Linked DNA regions of Homo sapiens: all the other regions are linked to region 1. The links are contacts of gene promoters, found by promoter capture Hi-C in blood cells and fetal thymus (Javierre and others, 2016). All regions are on one chromosome and are shown on one strand. The core of a region is centred on a gene start or on the middle of the fragment in contact, and the rest is flanking DNA. Distances in the headings are between cores, read along the strand shown.

Region 1 (3,001 bases), core at 189-2,688:
AACAACCTTAAAACATCACCAAAGTTGAGAATATAATGAATAATTTCATCAGCCCCACGTGGTCAACTGTATATAAAGGTATGGGCTTCTTCAACATTAGAAAGTACTGTGTGTGTATTATCATACATATGCATTAACAAATATTAGGTCAGGCTGGGTACTGTGGCTCACGCCTGTAATCCTAGTACTTTGGGAGGCCAAGTCAGGATGGCTTGAGCCCAGGAGTTTGAGACCTGCCTGGGCAACACAGTGAAACGCCATCTTTCCAAAAAAGACACAAACACAAAATTAGCCAGGCATGGTGGCACGCGCCTGTAGTCCCAGCTACTAAGGAGGCTGAGGTGGGAGGATCATCTGAGCCCGGAAGTTCGATGCTGCAGTGAGCCTTGAAAGCGCCACTGCACTCCAGCCTGGACGATAGAGCAAGACCCTGACTCTCAAAAGAAAAAAAAAAATCGGCAAACTACTTAAATTCTTCTGTGTAATTTCCCAAAGTAATGAAAAAGCAGAAATTCTAAGCAATCTACCAACAATAATCTTGGTCATGTCGAAAAAATAATTCCAAACAGAACTTAAGATGTGTCAGTAAGGTGACAGATCCAATGTTTACTCTGAAATTTACTACACATCCACAGGGTGCAGTAAAAGCAACCGCATCAGTCTACAGTGTACCTGGGTGTTTTCCCCAATTACCCTACCACATTTAATTAAAAATAAATGCAGCCTCAGTTGAAATCCTAAATGCTAATATGCTCGTCTGGGTTATTTCTTCTGAACTCGATAAAACGTAAGGAAAATTTGACTCAAGTGAACTGAGGATTTCTCCTGAGAGGAGGGACAGGACAGGAAAGGAGGTAAGAAAAGGAGTTGGGGGAAAAATGCTAAAAGAGAAGCGACGACTATTGGATTTTAAGTTTTAAAATCTTATTTCCACGAGCAACTCTCGCTCTCCGGGGGAAAAAGGGAGAGGTGAGTTGACTGGGAGTTCATCCCTCTGAGAAAAAGATCCGAAGCGGAGTCTCGTGTTGTCTAGCCCGGGCTCACACTGCGCCTCCCTCCATGCCCGGGAAAACCATCTTCAGGAGCAGATGCACCTGCCGGGGACACGGGGCGAGGGGTGCGGAGCCTCCTCCACGTACAATTCTGGGGCGAGGGGCAGGTCCAACATCCCAGATGGTGACCACCACTGCGCAAAGCCGGGGCGCAGCGACCTTCCACGCCCTGCACCCTCCCTGGCTGATGCAACCCACACAGGTCATTGGTCTCGGCCCCTTACCTAGCGGAGGGTCTCCTGAATTCACGGTCAGAGAGAGCGTCGCCATCTCCACCAGTCCGCTGGTCCACCTGTCAGTACGCCTGGCTCGTGCCAGAACTACGGAGGACCCCGCGAAAGGAAGAAGATGCAACGTGTGCGCGTACCCGACGCCGCCGCAGCCTTCGCTCCGCCCCTGCGCCGCAGCTACTGCCGACACCGCGCACGCCGCGGTGCGACATCGTCGCGCGCCGTCTTCGTCCCCGCCCGCAGGTTCCAGAGCCTGCTACCCCTCCTCTTGGCCGCCAGGGTTAGAACGGCCTGCGTGGCCTTTCGTGCTGCGGTGGGAAAGACGCTGAAGTGGACGGGACTTTACGACACTTCGTCAAGTCAGCAGGTCGTAAAACAGCAGGTTGTAAAACCATCTTTAAGATGGGATAGGCGTTTATGTGAAGCACGAAACAAAAGCATGCACTGTCTTTATGTAAAAAGAAAAGTCCTGGAAGCATACACACGATAGCCATGATTACGTTGGGAATGGGAGAAGTTTTTCTCGTTGTTTATTTTATACATTCCCCCCCGTTTTTTTTTTTCCAAAACAAGAACGTATTTTCAAGAGTTATTTGCGTGTTGAAAATAATGGTTAAAGGAAATATAAAAGACTCTTTAAAAATCACTGCAGGCCGGGCGTGGTGGCTCACGCCTGTAATCTCAGCACTTTAGAAGGTGTAGGCGGGCGGATCACCTGAGGTCAGGAGTTCGAGACCAGTCTGGCCAGCATGGTGAAACCCCATCTCTACTAAAAATACAAAAATTAGCCTGGCATGGTGGTGGGCCCCTGTAATCCCAGCTACTTGGGAGGCTGAGGCAGGAGAATCGCTTGAACCTGGGAGGTGGAGGTTGCAGTGAGCCGAGATCGTGCTACTGCATCCAGCCTGGGCGACAGAGTGAGACTCCTTCTCGAAAAGAAAAAAAAAAAAAATCACAGCAGAGGCCGGGCGCGGTGGCTCAGGCCTGTAATCCCAGCACTTTGGGAGGCCGGAGGCGAGCGGATCTCGAGGTCAGGAGTTGGAGACCAGCTTCACCAACATGGTGAAACTGTAGAGACGGGGGTCTCTACTAAAAGTACAAAAATTAGCCGGGAATGGTAGCGCGCACCTTTAATCCTAGCTACTTGGGGAGCTGAGGCAGGAGAATCGCTTGAACCCGGGAGGAGGAGGTTGCGGTGAGCCGAGATCGCGGCACTGCACTCCAGCCTGGGCGACAGACTGAGACCCCGTTTCAAAACAAACAAAAAATCACTGCAGATAGGCGCAGTGGCGCGCTCCTGTAGTCTCAGCTATTAAGAAGGCTGAGGCAGGATCGCCTGAGCCCAGGAAGATGAGGCTGTAGTGGCCTCGCCGTGGACTTGCCTGTGAGTAGCCACTACCCTCCAGCCTGGCCGACACAGGGAGAGACCTGATCTAAAAAACAAAACAAAAAAACCCTCCGATGCCGCCCCCAATCATGGAGTCCACAGGTGTTTTTTTCAGCGTCTCATCTGATTCTCCCTTTCAAATCCTTTGTGACGGACGTGCATGCATGAGCTCCAGAGATACTCCAAGGTGTATACACACATTCGTGTGTGTGAGCTGCACCCATATTTCAAGGGCTGGTGTTAAAGTACGGGGACCCGGGATGGATTCCAAGAACCATCTCAACCACATCCTCGCCTACACTTTTTCTTAACCTCCCCAAGACATCCTTGTT
Region 2 (3,127 bases), core at 165-2,664, about 44 Mb before region 1:
GATGTTATTTAACAAACGTGGTTCTCTCTTTTCAAGACACTTGGTGGAGAAGTGAAAAATCTGTTAACAGACTTTGACTACAGTCGTCTCAACAGCCGATTCCTAAGTGGCCCATCCTTTGAAATGGAAGAAGATATTTACACATACATACGATAGGTACTTACATTATTATAAAAAGCATGTCTTTATAAGACATCCATGCTTATGTTTACAGCATCATCTACCATACTTCAAATAAATTTTGACCAACTCCACCCCTCTGCATCCGAGGAAGCTTAGTCCTCTCCATTTGCAAATTTCATTCATCTCAACAAGGACTCCTGATTGACTGAGTGTTCAATTCATCAGAGAGGCAAAAATTTTAAGACTCAACCTCTCTGCCAACTTTGTTATCCAAAACCATTTATTTGACCTTCCACCTCTTCCCTCGTCATTCGTTAAACTCCCTTCACTTCCTCCTCAGCAACACTTACCTACCTCTTTATTATCCCCACCCTGCCTCGCTACTCCAACATTCCTTCACCCCACCAACCAGGAGCTCGAATGCCTGCAAACGCTCGATTCCCTCTGCAGACACCACCACAGCACCAGTATCCCAAGCTCTCCAACAAGCCACCCCCACACCAGACCCCCCGCCCCCAAGCCTAAGCGGCAGAAACTCATAATTTAGGGACAAGGAGGGAGTGCTCTTCAAACCCACCATACGAAGTCGTTGCTTTTGTCCTCGTAGGAGTTGATGAGCCCGTTGCAGAGGGGGGCGAGGAGAGGTCGCTTCCTGCTGCCGCTGCCTAGGCTGGAGCTGCTGCCTCCTACGCCGGCGCTGGGCCTGGCCGCGCAGCTGTGCCGGGACAGGCCCGTGGACACCGCCCCGCCGCCGCTACCCGATACGGCGGGCGCCACCAACACAGGCCGCACCGGGCCCCCGAGGCCGCCCGAGCCGGCGGCCTGGGCCACCCCGCCGGACACCAGCGCTGCCGCCGAAACCGCCACGGAAGGCGGCGACGGGGAAGAGGATAAAGACGAGGAGGCGGAAGTCACCGAGGAGGCCGCCGAGGACCCGGGGCTTGTCCCAGCGGAGCCCGACCCGGCCTGGCGGCTACCAGACATCGTGACTCCCTCCCCTCCAGCCGGGCGCTCGGAGGAGAGGGACCGCGACCTCGACCCTCCGCCGCCTCCCCTCCCCTCAGCCTCAGTGCATCCTGAGGACGCCCGCCGAGCCGGAGGTGGGGCTGAGGAACAATAAAGTTGCGTTTTTTTTTAAGGCAGCCACACAACAGCGTCCCACGGGAGGGGGCGGAGGAAACTAAAAAAGCGGAGTAGAAGGCACTACCGCTGTCGAGGCCGCCGCCGCCACCGCGGTCCCTGTAGCAGCCAACCCCGGCGCGCCGTGGCCGGCCGTGCGCGCGCGCGCGAGCGGCGGAAGAGGCGGGCGTGGCGGGGGATACAACTGGGGACGCAGCGGGGCTGCGCTCAGACGCTCAGGGCGCGCCCTCGGGGTCGGGGCTCCCTGGCGAAGGGAGTCTGTCTGTCCCAAGCCGCTTTCGTTCCAGAAAACGTGCCAGAGGGCAGGCCGTCTTAATACAGTGAAAGAATTGAGGAGACTGGAATGAATGGTATAGGTGGTGGGGTGGTTTGAAAGACGGGAACGTAGCGGGCGGAAACTCTCGAAAAGCGACTGCGCAGGCGCGCGCCGGGCGCGGACGCTCACGGGTCACCCAGGGTATCCGCCCCAAGCGGAGAATATCGGCGCAAGCGCGGAGTAGCCGTGTCACGCATGCGTGCGAACGCACCACATTCCGGAACGGGAAGAAGGAGCTGTCTCTCTCTTCTGAGGGGTAGGCAGGTGCTTCCGAATCGCGGAATGTAGGTGCTCATAAGCTGGAGACCCACGGAAAGAACCTAGAAGCTCCGAGCGGTTGCAGACAGCACTGCATTGAGCCAACGACTCCTGCTCTACTGATGGTGATTCCACAGCTTTGTGAGGAATAAGTTAAGATGAAGTCAGTGAAGTTTTCTGCGAATTGCAAACATTGTAGCAAGTGTTACCAATTTTATTAGTTCGACCACGACTTCACTCCTATATTTTGAAAAGCTGTTTGCCAAATTGAACATAACAATAATGGGAAAACAGATTTTGCTCAATCAGACCCAGCTCAGTCGGAACCTAGGTTTATTGTGGATCTGATATAATTCTAGCACAAAACAAGGAAACCTAGCATTTAATACCACCAGAAAATATACAATTTCTGGTAGGCTTTTTTAGAATATTGAAAATTGATTATAGGCGGGCGCGGTGGCTCATGCCTGTCATCGCAGCACCTTGGGAGGCCTAGGGGGTCGGATCACCTGAGCCTGGAGGTGAGGATCAGGCTGAACCTGAGGTTAGAGACCAGCCTGGGCAAGATAGCGAAACCCCGTCTCTACAAAAAGTACAAAAAATTAGCTGGGCATGGTGGCAGCAGGCCTGTAGTCCCAGCTACTCGGGAGGCTGACATGGGAGGATTGCTTGAGCTGGGGAGGTTGAGGCTGTAGGGAGCGGAGATCCCTACACTCCAGCCTGTGAGACAGAGACCCTGTCTCAAAAAAAAAAATTTTTTTCATTTGCCGCATTCTAAGGGGTGGGAGTTAGAAACAACTGTGTGATTTTATCCTTTTCAATTCTATCATTCTATGATTCTTATATATTTATTTGGGAATAAAGTGTGAAAATACTCATGACTTAGTAAACTACGTGCGTATTCAAGGAGGTAAAGGAAGGCAAAGGTTTTTAAAATTTAAAAAAAAATGAGAATTACATAATTGTTTTTAAACCGTTATCCTTGGCTACGAAGATCAATAACAAGGTGACACCAGTCGGAAACTGGACAGGAAGTTGCTGGGCAGATGTTTTTGCGGAAGTATTTTTTGTGTAAGATTGTGGCTTTTGGCCAGGTGCGGTGGCTGAGGCCCATAATTCCAACACTTTGGGAGGCCAAGGCGAGTGGATCACCTGAGGTCAGGAGTTCGAGACCAGCCTGGCCAACATGACGAAACCCTGTCCCTACTAAAAATACAAAAATTAACCGGGTGTGGTGGCATGCACCTGTAATCCCAACTACTCGAGAGTGTGAGGCAGGAGAATCGCTTG
Region 3 (2,842 bases), core at 312-2,811, about 34 Mb before region 1:
CTAACCATAACAACGCAAATATTTAGTTGATCTAGTTTCATAATAAACATTCTTTAACACTAACACAAAATGGCAATGTTTACTATGTTAGTTACACAGCACTAGGAACCAAAGAAAGCCTTTCCTAGAATGATCCACTAATTATAAGATGATTTTAAAAATAAGTTTTGGGAGAATTAAATTTTGAAGAGATTTGTATACATTTGCTGAAGAAAAAGAATTTAACAACATTTAATACCATTCTTACCTCAGTTAGTTTCATCCCAGGTTTCACTATCTTAGCTACAGCTGCTGCAGTAGGAGACATGGCGGCAAGCTCTTCTTCAGACAATATGGCTCCTGTGCCAACAAATACACATCTAGTATAATTTGTAAAATTCCAAACTAAAAGCCATTAATAATTTTTCAAGGTAAGTGACATGTACTGTACATTATATAGTAATTCCTATAAAAATTTTAAATACATGACATCAAAAAGTCATGTAACACATCTAATTCTAAAAAATCATGCAATAACCTGGGAATTTACAAGACTGTGTGTGATCAAATGGTATTTATATGCCCGATTCTGTAAAGATACAGGTAAGAGTATTAATTTTAAAACAAATTCTATTAATATAACTCGATGGAGTTTCCTACATCACAGCATGACAGATAAATACTATTAGTGAAATTAAATGACTTTTATGTAGGAAAGCTGTAGTATTTCAACTCACTAACAAGCATCTATTAGCCATACCTTTACGTTTTGTGGCAGAAAGAAGGTCATTTGCATTCTCTAATTCCTTCTCCAATCTCCCTATTTTCTCAAGCATTTCTTTTTCCATTTGATCTTTGGATTGCTCCACCTCTAGAAGATGATCTTGTATTGCTTTGTTGGCTAAAAAACAATTTTAAAGACCAAATATTCAAACATACAGTTAAAATTTTAGTTTACAAAATGCAACAGATCAGTCACTTCTCCCCTCAGCAGATAATATTAAATTTCTAGAGAGGCTTCAGCTGACAGTATCTATTGAAAGTTCTTGCTCTACTTATAATTTTGGAATTGTCTTCGCCTGGTGTTTCTCCTTTTGATGTCTCTTACCCACAAAGAAAATAAGGAAACCCAAAGGGTAAAAAGTGGTTCTAGGTATATCTTTGATTTCGATTTTGATCTTTAATCCTAAGTAAAGGAAATTATTGGAAAAGACCATAAATATAATACATTGAAAAAAGCAAAAATTTGAGGAAATAAAAGACTTTACAAAATGCAAATAAAGAGGATGTCTTATTTATAAAGTAAGAGTATTCAAACATTATCAGAGTAAATGTTTCAAAAAAGAAAACTTTCTCATTAGAAATCAGCAAATTATACAAGATTATTAGATAAAAAACAAACAAAACCCCCTGCTGTCTGTATTTTCAAAAATATATAAACTTACATTTGCTTAAGATATAATTCTGAATTTCCTAATCCAAAGTTCTTTCTTCTGTACCTAATTCTGTCCCAAATAAAGTCTAACACCTAAATCCAATCATCTATACAAAACAAGGGTAAAAAAAAAAAAAGAGTACAATAACAAAAATAATGTTCCCATAACTGAAAACACTTACCTTCACCAGCTTCTTTCAAAAGTTTGTGTAGTTCCTCTACTGCCCGGGTTAGTTCATTGCTCTTTGCTTCTGAGTCATCAGCGGCACTCTAAAAGTTAATCTTAAAAAGTTACCTAACAGTCAACAATGCAACATTTAGATACTAACATGTGTGGTGGGATATTTACCTTGTACAAATTAGAAAGTTTTATGTGGGCATTTAATTCATTGTGGAATTTCTCTTCCATACTGGCCTGTTGTTCCTTGGCCTGAAAAAAATAGCCCAATTATAGCAGTCTACTTTGAACTAAATTTAGAATGCTTATCAAATGACAAGATGAAAAATTCCATTTTTGTAAAGTAAGAGCTAAATCTAAAACACTCAAATTCAAATCAGTCTTCATGACAAAGATAAATTAAGGATAAAATATTACTAATATTTTAAATTCAAAGTAAAATAATTAAACAATAAAATTAACCCATACTCATTTTTTAGATAGTATTTTCAATATAACATATAATTGCTATTTCTGATTCTATTTTAGCCTAGCTACAGCATATGGAAGGAGGACTCTCACTGTTTTATGGGGCCAAGGACAGATTAAAAAATGACATCATTTTGTGAAATAACAGCTTCGTAAGTGCTTTAGTATTTTGTAAAAAAGACATTTTAATGGTCATATATACCTCTTTTAATTTGGTCAACAGATCCTCCACATGCTTTTGAAGATGTTCATTTGATGTTTTTAAGCCATTCATTTGTTCTTCCAGTCTAGAAACCTAAAAACAAAAAATAGAGCAGGGGGAAAGGATGTCATATTAACTGAAATTACTCTGACATGAGGTTTATGCTGCTAAGGAAAAGCTAAGTAACTCCCCCTCCCCACCTGAAAAAGCAATTAAAATATGCATATTTAAGAAAACTAAGAGTAACTGCTCACAGAACAATGTTTAGATTTAGCTCACAAAAACTTACCACCACTTCTTAAACAAACACATATTTTAGGAAAGATATATCGTAAGACAGTAGATACTAACCAGATTTGACAAAGAATCTTAAATTCTTTATGTAAACGCAATTGGTTGATTTTTTACGCCAAATGTAATGCATTATTCACATTTAACCACTCATCTTACAACTAATCAGGTACACACTACTGAATACATATTTAATAAACTGACATACAAATGTAAGTTATACTCAACATGAAGAAAAACACAATTTTACTAACTTACCTCTTCTTTTTTATTTTCAAGATTACATTTA
Region 4 (2,824 bases), core at 185-2,684, about 35 Mb before region 1:
CAATTTCTCTTTTAAGCAATGGTTTTCTTCAGTGTATAAATATTGTAAACATTTTTTTAAATTAAGAGAATAATCTCCCTTAAGACCAGAGATAACATCTTCATGTATATATCCACAATATCTAGCTATATAAAGCACTCAATGATAATTGTTGATGGCACCCAAGGAAGCTGTTTAAATAATGAAGTTTCATAATCTAATTTCAATTTATTCTTATCTGTTCAATAAACTGGTTCCCTAAAAACCACTACCAGAAAGACTATTTTTGCCCTGTTTTTTAAAAACTTCCTTTTAAAAAATGTAATTGTATTGTAGGTTTCAAAATTCCCAGTTGACTGTGCTCACATAATAATCAACTCACATAAATGGTAGGTAAAGATAAGCTTCCTACTTACCATATAGTTACCATAAGCATGATCAAACATTTCCAGTACTTGATTCCTAATTTTAAAAGAGCAGAAATGGAAAAAAAAAAAAAAAAAGGTAAGTATATTCTATTTATTATCTTTCAAAAAGTTAATTCTTCCTCATAAAAAATATACCAATAAAAACAAAAGAAAAATTTAGGTAGAAAGGGACATAAACAGAATCAGAAACTACAACAGCTAGCAGACAAGCTTTCATGAACTCACCACACAGAGCTGAGCCAAACTTTAATGATTACTAGTAATTTATGTACAATTCATCTTATAATTTTTCCTAAGAAAACTGATGAATGATAGATGCCATCATCAGAGAAGGAAATCTGATGCAGAAAAACAATGACCTCTTAACACAATTATTTAACGTATCTGTCTTGAAGCGGGGGTTTTGCTGGACAGCCCTTTAAAAAAACCATTATTATTGCCATTTATTGCTTCCCCTATATGTTCTACTAAGAGAGAGGTACACAGGTGTGTAGTGACATGAAATAACAACGCTTTATGAAGCCTCTGCCTTTGCACTTACATTGAATAAACCACTAATGCCTAGTTTAAGTACATATTTATTAATGTTTGTCATATTTTCAAAAGATACTTTTTATGATGTGCTCTACTCTAAAAAAACTGTCAAAAATCAAATAAATAGTATTCACTTCCAAAATGAGAAAACTAATGCTCAAAAAGAGAGTTGTGTGTTTTGGCGAATTCTGTTTCACAAAATCTCCGTAACCACTGTTTAAAATGGAGATGTCTGATCACTACACCAGAATTTTACTAAATCAAAACCTGTAAGGTTGCGACTGAGGAAGCAGCCTTTCAATTAAGCACTCTCAAGTTCAGGGACTTGAGGACTACAGGAAAAAGTACAAGTTAATTGTATGACCAGACAAGGCCAAATAATTAGCAAAGGAAAACACAGCTTAACAATTTTTTATTAACTTTTTCTTTTTTTTTTGAGACAGGGTCTCACTCTGTCACACCTAGGCTAGAGTGCAGTGGCACGATCTCAGCTCACTGCAACCTTCACCTCCCAGGTTCAAGCGATTCTCCTGCCTCAGCCTCCCGAGTAGCTGGGATTACAGGCGTCTGCCACCATGCCTGGCTAATTTTTGCATTTTCAGTAGAGACAGGGTTTTACCACGTTGGCCAGGCTGGTCTCGAACTCCTGACCTCATGTGATCCACCCGCCTCAGCCTCCCAAAGTGCTGGGATTACAGGTGTGAGTTACCACGCCCGGCCTATTAACTTTTCTTTTACCAAAGTTCCAATCACTGATGGCAAGAATTGAAAAAAGTGTTAAAGAAATTGCTGACTATATTTTTATTTGCCTCCTGTTATACTGCAATTGTCATTTTTAAAACTATAATCACAGATTATGAAATACTGGTAATAATAGAGCTAGCAAACAGAAAAGACCTCAGTTCCAGATCCTGACTATGAACACCAACAAAATCAAGTACACTCAAACTTGTGAACGAATTAAGTCCTGACAACATATGAATAATAACCACTTAAAAACATTTCATTATTTAAAAAAAGACCTTACCACCACTTTGCTAAAGCACTAATTCTTTGTAAGTTTACATATATATATATGTTTATATATATATAATTTTTATATTTGTGGTTTACAGCTCTAGACTCTTATCCTGTCCTAAGCAGAAAAAAAAAAGTTTAAAATGTCCCTTTCAGGAACTCATATCAATGAATGGAAGATGGAAGTCCTCTTTTTTTTCCTTCCCTGAAATGGAATACGAGATTATTACCAAGAAGTAGAAATTCCTATAATTGGCAATGGTAGTGCCTAGACATGTATATTACAAATGACATAAGCTTTAACTTGCTAACTCAACTTTACAAGCATTCAATTTTCAAGACTGTAAGTAAATCATGATTGCATACAAGGAGAATACACTATTTTCCAATCCTTACATTTATGCAGCATATGATGAGCAAATTTTAGAACACATATTTCAAAGTGGAGCTATTTAATATCATTGCTCTTACACATAGAAGCCTAACAAAGTCACATTTAAATACAGAATGGTATAATAATTACTATACTGAACAGAAAAAAAAATTTCCATAATGTTTTATCTATTCAAAAACTGGATTAAAATGTATTGGAAATCAGACCCAGTTCAAAAATTACACCACTCTTCAGTAATTTCTGTAAGTCGGCTTTTTCTCTTTTTTTGAGACAGAGTTTTGCTCTTGTTGCCCGGGCTGGAGTGCAATGGCACGATCTCTGCTCGCTGCAACCTTCGCCTCCAGGTTCAAGCGATTCTTCCTGCCTCAGCCTCCCGAGTAGCTGGGATTAAGGGCATGCGCCACCACACCTGGCTAATTTTGTGTTTTTAGTAGAGAAGGGGTTTCTCCATGTTGGTCAGGCTGGTCTCGAA

What was found. The method cuts DNA at HindIII sites, captures the fragments that hold promoters and counts their contacts. A CHiCAGO score of 5 or more calls a contact.
Region 2: a contact is called between the fragment with the promoter of COP1 here and the fragment with the promoter of EPRS1 in region 1, in 1 of 17 cell types (total CD4 T cells). The highest score is 7.7, in total CD4 T cells.
Region 3: a fragment that was not itself captured here is called in contact with the fragment with the promoter of EPRS1 in region 1 in 1 of 17 cell types (total CD8 T cells); the score reaches 8.2 in total CD8 T cells.
Region 4: a contact is called between a fragment that was not itself captured here and the fragment with the promoter of EPRS1 in region 1, in 1 of 17 cell types (total B cells). The highest score is 5.1, in total B cells.

Annotation. Positions count from the first base shown.
Region 1 is chr1:220,045,067-220,048,067 of GRCh38, forward strand. It overlaps EPRS1 (glutamyl-prolyl-tRNA synthetase 1), which reads right to left and starts at 1,439. Exons shown (of 32, transcript NM_004446.3): 1 at 1,277-1,439. The coding sequence starts at 1,322. RefSeq lists enhancers at 592-1,149, 1,191-1,520, 1,581-1,650. The HindIII fragment of the contact is 10,455 bases long and covers 1-3,001 here.
Region 2 is chr1:176,205,872-176,208,998 of GRCh38, forward strand. COP1 (COP1 E3 ubiquitin ligase) reads right to left here and starts at 1,415. Exons shown (of 20, transcript NM_022457.7): 1 at 701-1,415. The coding sequence starts at 1,107. It overlaps COP1-DT (COP1 divergent transcript), which reads left to right and starts at 1,794. Exons shown (of 5, transcript NR_185981.1): 1 at 1,794-2,000. RefSeq lists silencers at 853-1,212, 1,243-1,452 and an enhancer at 1,953-2,022. The HindIII fragment of the contact is 7,879 bases long and covers 273-3,127 here.
Region 3 is chr1:186,360,026-186,362,867 of GRCh38, forward strand. It overlaps TPR (translocated promoter region, nuclear basket protein), which reads right to left. Exons shown (of 51, transcript NM_003292.3): 6 at 2,812-2,842; 7 at 2,263-2,355; 8 at 1,764-1,844; 9 at 1,597-1,684; 10 at 740-880; 11 at 248-339. Among named protein-coding and RNA genes, the nearest start is that of TPR, 14 kb to the right of the region's middle. The HindIII fragment of the contact is 3,545 bases long and covers 1-2,842 here.
Region 4 is chr1:184,749,152-184,751,975 of GRCh38, forward strand. EDEM3 (ER degradation enhancing alpha-mannosidase like protein 3) reads right to left here. Exons shown (of 20, transcript NM_025191.4): 2 at 396-441. Among named protein-coding and RNA genes, the nearest start is that of EDEM3, 4.3 kb to the right of the region's middle. The HindIII fragment of the contact is 1,638 bases long and covers 616-2,253 here.